Regions from separate parts of the Homo sapiens genome. Here region 1 is linked to region 2. The links are contacts of gene promoters, found by promoter capture Hi-C in human tissues and cell types (Jung and others, 2019). All regions are on one chromosome and are shown on one strand. The core of a region is centred on a gene start or on the middle of the fragment in contact, and the rest is flanking DNA. Distances in the headings are between cores, read along the strand shown.

The links. The method cuts DNA at HindIII sites, captures the fragments that hold promoters and counts their contacts. A contact is called where the count stands out against the background at its distance.
Region 1: a contact is called between a fragment that was not itself captured here and the fragment with the promoter of GPR65 in region 2, in 2 of the 25 tissues and cell types used here (H1 embryonic stem cells and mesendoderm cells).

What each region holds. Positions count from the first base shown.
Region 1 is chr14:88,220,592-88,224,567 of GRCh38, reverse strand. All of the region lies in intron 4 of KCNK10 (potassium two pore domain channel subfamily K member 10), which reads left to right. Among named protein-coding and RNA genes, the nearest start is that of KCNK10-AS1, 62 kb to the right of the region's middle. The HindIII fragment of the contact is 3,416 bases long and covers 1-3,347 here.
Region 2 is chr14:88,003,309-88,007,345 of GRCh38, reverse strand. It overlaps GPR65 (G protein-coupled receptor 65), which reads right to left and starts at 2,211. Exons shown (of 2, transcript NM_003608.4): 1 at 2,124-2,211. RefSeq lists enhancers at 767-826, 1,627-1,796. The HindIII fragment of the contact is 6,432 bases long and covers 1-4,037 here.

The sequences.
Region 1 (3,976 bases), core at 390-2,889, 220 kb before region 2:
AGGTGACCCTGTTTTGGGTCCTTCCAACACATCCCAGGTCTGATCCTCATTTTAAAGAATTGCTGAGGGATATTGGATTACTTAGAAATGCTTTTGGTTGCAGAATAATAAAATGCCTGACTATTGGAGTTTTTATGACATGAATAAATAAGAATTCTTCTCCTCTGGAGTTCAGAACTAACTGTGAAATGGAGGAGTCAGATGGAGATCAAATTGCCAGCTTTATTGCTTATAAGCTGATCAGAGAATATAGCTTTAGCTTTGTTTCCGAAAGGGCTTACAGTCACTTTACCCTGAATTAGGACCTTGCTGCTGCATTAGTTTTTCTATTGCTGTGTAACATATGACTACAATCATAGAAGCTTAAAACAACACTTTTAAATGGCCTTCTTGCACCACCACTTAAAATGTTTAATTTTGCTCTCAGATGATGTTCAGAAACAAAGGAAAGGTAAAAGTAAAGGTGCCAAATTATTTGCAGATGTGCATAACCAAACCCAAATGAAACTAAAATAAGAATGCTCACAATTTTCTTTTTTTTTTTTTTTAAGTGGAGATGGGATTTCACTGTGTTGGCAAGGCTAGTCTGGAACTCCTGGCCTCAGGTGATCTGCCCTCCTTGGCCTCCCAGAGTGCTGGGATTACAGGCGTGAGCCACCACGCCCAGCCACACACATTTTTTTAAGCCGGGTGTACAGACCAAATAACATATTAAACTAGATGTAAAGAAAGAACCAAAAGTGAATTCACCAGAAAAGACATGCCACTAAGACAGAATGTAAATTCTGTAGAAACCAGAGTACTCAATGCAGAAGGATACTTTTCTACCAGAAAGTGCTTGCCAACAAACAAACAAACAAAAACGCCTTTTACAGACCCAAGAGGGATGCAAAGTTCTTTACTTAAGGCACCTTTTAGCCAAATCAAATCACATATAAAGTCAAAAAGAACTCGCCAAAGGGAGGGAGTCTGAGAATCTGAGAGGAGAGTCACCCAGACAGAAGAGGCAACAGACAGAAGCAGAGAGCAGAAAGGGCTCAGTCAGTACTGCACTCAGTTCCAGGGACCTCTCATTCCTCTGAGGTGCACTCACTTTGATCCCACTTCTGACACCATTTATGTCACCCTAAATAACATACAGACAGAGGCTCATTGAAAGAAAATGATATTTACTCAGGGATGGGCATTGCAGTGGTAACATACATGCCAGTTTAAACTATGTGTGCATTCAGGGAGGTAAAGCAAAAAAAAAAAAAAAAGGTTTTTAAAGGAAAAATGAACAGGATTACATAATTGTTTTGAGCTAATTATCCTTGAATACAAGGATCAATAACAAGGGTGATGCCAGTCCAAGGTTGGACAGTCAGTTGCTGGGTAGATGTCTTCGCAGAAATGCTTTTCTGCATAACGAGGTGATGGGTTTTGTGCAAGGTTGTAGTTTTTGCAGTCTTTTATGATAGCTCTTGTAATCAGGCATTTGTGCATGAGAATCCTTCCTTCCTGGCTTTCCCTGACTCTGTTTGTCAGAGTTTTAAGCACAAGTAACCCCATTTTGATTCTGACAATTTTCATACTCCCAACACTCATTAACAATGGGTTAAGAATTTGAACCCTTATCTCACATAGCAAGAAGCCTGGAGGTACGTTGACTCAGGCTTGTGCTATCAGCTCCACAATGTCAGGTGTATCCAGATTTGTTACCTCTTTCTGCTCTGTTTTCCTTGGCATGGTAGCTCTTCATCCTCAGACTTGTCACTCACATTGCAAGATGGCTGCTTCATGACCAAATAGCACGTTTTCACCCAACCTCATATCAGGAAATACAAAAGGAACTCCCTTAAAATTTATCTTTTTTTAGAGCAGTTGCATATTCACAGCAAAATGGAGGGGAAGATACAGAGATATCCCATATCCCCTTGCCCCTACACACATGTGCAGTCTCCCTCATTATCAACATCCCGCACCAGACTGGTACATTTGTTACAATTTATGAACCTACATTGATGCATCATTATCACCTAGAGTCCATAGTTTACATTAGGGTTCACTCTTGGTGTTGTAGAGTCTATGAATTTGGACAAATTTATAATGACATGCGTCTACCATTATAGTATCATACATAGTATTTCACTCTCCTAAAAATCCTCTGTACCCTGCTTGTTCATCAATCCCGTTCTCCTAACCTTTGACAATGACTCATGTTTTTATTAGTTTTGTCTTTTCCAGAATGTCATTAATATGGTTTGGCTGTGTCCCCACCCAAATCTCAACTTATATCTCCCAGAATTCCCATGTGTTGTGGGAGGGACCCAGGGGGAGGTAGTTGAATCATGGGGGCCAGTCTTTCCTGTGCTATTCTCATGATAGTGAATAAGCCTCACGAGATTTGATAGGCTTATCAGGGGTTTCTGCTTTTGCTTCTTCCTCATTTTTCTCTTGCTGCCACCATGTAAGAAATACCTTTCACCTCCCACCATGACTCTGAGGCCTCCCCAGCCATGTGGAACTGTAAGTCCAATTAAGCCTCTTTTTGTTCCCAGTTTCAGATATGTCTTTATCAGCAGCGTGAAAACGGACTTATACAGTTGTGTAGTTGCAATCATACTGTATGTAGCCTTTTCAGACTGGCTTATTTCACTTAAATATGGATAAAAGTTTCCTCTATGTCTTTTCATGGCTTGTAGTCCATTTCTGCTGGGTGGTGAATAATATTCCATTTTCTGGGTGTACCATAGTTTATGTATCCATTCACCTACTGAAGGACATCTTGTTTGCTTCTAAGTTTTGGTAATTACGAATAAAGCTGATATAAACCTCTGTGCACAGGTTTTTTGGTTGAACATTAGTTTTCAACTCCTTTAGTTAAATACAAAGATGTGTGATGACTGGATTGGATGGTAAGAATATGCTTAGGTGTATAAGAAATTGCCACACTGTCTTCCAAAGTGGCTATACAATTTTGTACTTCCACCAGCAATGAATGACAGTTCCTGTTGCTCCACATCCTCATCAGCATTTGCTGTTGTCGGTGTTCTGAATTTTCTCAATTCTAAGTGTGTAGTGGTATCTTGCTTTAATTTGCATTTCTCTGATGATGTATAATGTGGAGCATCTTTTCAGATGCTTACTTGCCATCTGTATATCTTCTTTGGTGAAGTGTCTGTTAAAGTCTTTGGCCTATTTTTTAATTGAGCTATTTGTTTCTTTATTGTTGAGATTTAATGTATAATGTGTAATGTATTATTATTATTATTATTATTATTATTGAGACAGAGTCTCACTCTGTCACCCAGGCTGGAGTGCAGTGGTATGATCTTGGCTCACTGCAACCTCTGCCTCCCAGGTTCAAGTGATTCTTCTGCCTCAGCCTCCCAAGTAGCTGGGATTACAGGCATGCACCACCATGCCTGGCTAATTTTTGTATTTTTAGTAGAGATGGGGTTTCACTTTGTTGGCCAAGCTGGTCTTGAACTCCTGACCTCAGGTGATCCACCTGCCTCGGTCTCCCAGAGTGCTGGGATTACAGGCATGAGCCACTGTGCCTGGCCATATTTTATATATTTTGAATTATATTCCTTTATCAAGTATATCCTTTGCATTTTTTATCTAGTATATCCTTTGCAAATATTTTCTCCCAATCTGTGGGTTATCTTTTCATTCTCTTGATAGTGTCTTTAACAGAGCAGAGGTTTTAATTTTAATGAAGTCCAGCTTATCAACTATTTCTTTCATGGAGCATGTGTTTGTTGTATCTAAAAAGTAATTGGCATACTCAAGGTCATGTAGATTTCTTCCTATGTTACCTTCTAGGAGTTTTATACTTTTGCATTTTACATGTAGGTATGTGATCACTTTTAAGTTGATTTTTGTGAAGGGTGTGAGCTTTGTGTCTGCAGCCATATTTTTTGCATGTGTATGTTCAGTTGTTCCTGTGCCATTTGTTGAAAAGACCTTTTTTTTTTTCTCCATGTTGTCG
Region 2 (4,037 bases), core at 962-3,461:
AGAGAATGTTGAAAAGGCAATATTCACAAAGATGATGAGCTTTCTAGAACTGATGAAGGAATCTTGAGGATGGATGAAGAATCCTCATGCATCTTCAATCCTCATGAAATCTGCAGATTTATGAAGCTTAGAAAATCCCAAATAGGATTAAAAACACAAAAATGGAAACCTATACTTAGACACATTGCAATAAAATTGCAGTTCACCAAAGACTAAGGAAAAAAGAGCCAGAGAGGAAAGATGGACTACCTATGAAGGATGGAATTTAGACGGACAAAAGACTTCTCAACAGCGATAACAGACAGCAGAAGATTAAAAGTTCCAAATTGCTAAGAAAATATATGTCATCCTATAATTATATACTCAACAGAACTAAATTTCAAGGACCAGAGCAAGAATTAGGACATTTTCAGGTAAACTACCACTCAGAACATTTACATCCAAAATCCCCACTAAAGAAACTTCTAAAGGATATAACTGAAGTAGGAAAAGGACACTAGGGTAATGTCTGCGATGCAGGAAGATTGAATCAGCCCCCGCGGATGGGACTCTGATGCACACACAACACGTCCAACACCAGGCTCATGTGTCTTGGGAAGAACACCTGAACCATGAAAACATCCTCCCCTTAAGACCAGGACCGAGAAAGTCGGGTAATGGGCAGCATGTGCCTCTTCCTCCTTTGTCCGTGTTACTCAATAGATAGTCATCATTTTCTTTAAAAATGGTATGACAGATTAAATGAAAAAATGATTTTTAGAAAGGTTTATAAAGTTTTCAATGGAATACATTTCTCTAGCTGTAAAAGCATTTCCTGCCTTGACTTAACCACAAGACAGGATGGGTTGATGAAGCAGAGGCCCTCTTCTTTGTAGTGACGCAGAGGCAGTACAGGCTTGTGGTTAAGAGCGTGGGCTCTGGAGACAATTCGAATGCCTCTCAACAGCACTCTGGGCCCATTGGTGTTTCTTCACCTCTCTAAGTTCCAGTTTTCACATGTGTAAGTTAGTACCCAGTTTCTAAGATTGTTGTGAGGGTTAAATGAAACGACATATGAAGCAAAGTTCCTAGCACATGGGAGGCATTCACTGTACGTTAGCTGGTAATATTGTTTTAATGACATTGGTAGTCTGCACCAATCTTTGTGCTGTCCCCTACATTTTCTGAAAAGAAATCATCTTTAGTCATCTAGCCACAGCATAGCAGAAAAGCTGGAGGTGCTCAGAGTGTAATTTATATGGTAACACTTCACGTATAATACTAGGCTCTGCAGATAATAGTTGTTCATTTAATTTGGGTGGATCTGAGATTTTAGTGGAATACTGTATATAATTCCTATTACAGTATTCACATATCTTTTCAGATATTATTTTGCCTCCTTTAATCAAATTTTGAGAAAATTGTTTTTAGAACAAGCACTGAGAAATTTTGGTGAGTTTTTAATTTTTTAATTTTTACCAGATGTCAAAAAAGACAATCTACAGTATATTAAAGTATATCTATTCTTGAACAGATCTAAAAATAGTACAAATCATTGATGACGATGACCAAAAGTACAATATTTTCCTACAGTGTTATAGAAAATGCTTGCTTTCATCTATCAGTTTAATAGTTACTTATTAAGACTCTACTATATATTTCAGGCACTGTGGTAGTCACTTATTAACTAATAATTATTACTTGACATTTATTAATACTGGAAATATTCTTTCCTAATATCACATTTTTTTCTGATGGATATAAAAAGTATTTACTGGACCATTGTACAGATGAGGGATTGGTGCCAGATAGCTCTAAAGCCAGGGGCTGGTAGGCTTCTTCCTAATACTGAATGAAGTTTGCCAAAGCACTGTTTCCTGAAAAGAAAATAAAGTATGAACAACCCCCTTTTTCTATATCTATGGTTTTGCCTAATTAGTTCTAAATTTAAAGTTTGGCCCTTTACCACTGCTCAAAGTAGAGGAAACCATGTGTCTTCCTCATTTCTTTCTCTCTTATCATGCTTTGCATTACCACATTTATACAGCCTAAACCAGGAAGAATGTTGCGAACATCACTGACAATTATGCCAAAGCATGTTATCTACTTTAAAATATTATTTTATTTTTTAATCTTATACTTACCCATATTTCTTCCGGTGATGTGTTTGTTGACTGAGGAGCTTGATAAATCTGTGCCTGCATCAAGTCAAGAAGAGAAACCAACACTGCTGAGGGGACAGGAAATTGCACTCATATTTCAGCACAAACCAATGAGGAAGCAGCATCTCAATGAGAAGGGTGTGCGTTATCCAAGTTTGAACAAAAAAAGTCTCTTAAATACTTTTAAAGATGTTTTTATTTATTGTTTACTGTACTGTAATTTTTATAACTCACTTGTCTCATTGCATCTTAATTACAAGTATGTACTGATATTATATTATATGCCCTTTACTTAATGGAATATATGTTAAATATTTTATTTATTTCTTTGTTCATTCATTCATTCATTCATTCATTCACTCATCATGCCAGCAGTGTGCGGGGAGATGTATACGAACTGGCTATCAACCAAAAGCAGCTTTTTTTACCTAGTAAAGGAGAAAGACATGTTTAATAATGATTGTAATGCAATGGCAAAATGAAGAAGTACTTCAAGAGGGGTACAGATAAAATAGAATGAACCATTTGGATGTGTGAGATAGGGGAGGATATTGTAGGTAGATTCAGGGTGATAAAGTTCCTGGGACAAAAACAGAAAAGGGAGAATTGAGGCTGAGGGGTTTAATGATGGATATTGTGCTGCTTAAGGCAGGGGTTAAGGTAGCCAACCTCATACCGTCTTTCTTTTCTTTTTTTTTTTGAGAGACTAATGGGATTAGATATATAGTATTTGATTGTAGAACTATTTTCTCCTTTGATTCTCTCCTCTTGGAAACAGAGATGGCTAAAAACCAGTTGAATTAACTAGCTGAGACAAATAATTTTATGAAACTTGAAAATTTTATTTAAGACTTACATTGTTATTATAAAAACTCTTGTACTTTAGCAAGTTAAAGTTAATGCCAAATCTATAAGTGGTTTAATATGAAGTGAAATTAGCTCCTATAACTTTCTTACTATTGATATATAAAAAAGTCAGAAATATCACTTTTGAATCTTGCCCTCATAAACTTTTATTAGAAATGAAGGGAAAATATTATTTGAAAGAACAGAATTTATTTGGGATGAAAACATTTGACTTAATTTTAAAGATGTAATCAGGACATTTTGAATCTGTGTTTGTTAAAGGACATTAAGGGTTGTTGCTGGTGTTTTTTTTTTGTTGTTTTTTTCTCCCTACCCAGAGATAGAAAAGATTAGCCTGTATATAAGCAAGGCTTTCCATATTGAAGTTGATCAGGGTATATCAGGAATGTAAAGATTTTCAATACTTCCGTTGTAGGTCTTTCTTTGAGAATAATAAAACTAATACCTTACATTTATAAAGCACAGGATAGTTTATAAAGTAATTTAGCATATAGTAAATTATAAATCAATATATTGTTACTGAAATAATAAAAATTAAGTATAAAGTAAAAAATTAACAATAAATGTCTTGAAGTTTTACAAAAATGAAAAGTAACGATTTCAGTTTACTTGTGACTGTAATTCAAAGTTCTCATTTTTGCTTGGTTTCGTACATCTGCTTATCTGTGGTTTCTATACATGATATATCTTTTTTTAAGTTCGGGGTACAAGTGCATTGTTACGTAGGTATTTCATTACTCTGATGATCTCTTACTTTATCTGAATAGACTATACTTCTGCTTTTAGGGAAAGGGTATTTTCATGTCCATATCTAATATTCATGTATTTTGCTTTTCAAAAGAAAAAGATTATCATTAAGAAACATAAGAAACACAAACTTTCACTTCTGATTAAAGAGGAGAAAAAGCTGGAGCTGACCTATGCTAAAACCTTGCCAACTCTACACAATAAGAAATTTACCAGCTTTTAAGAAATTTGCTTCTTAATATGGAAAATATGGCAATACTGTATTTTCAACTATAGGGCTAT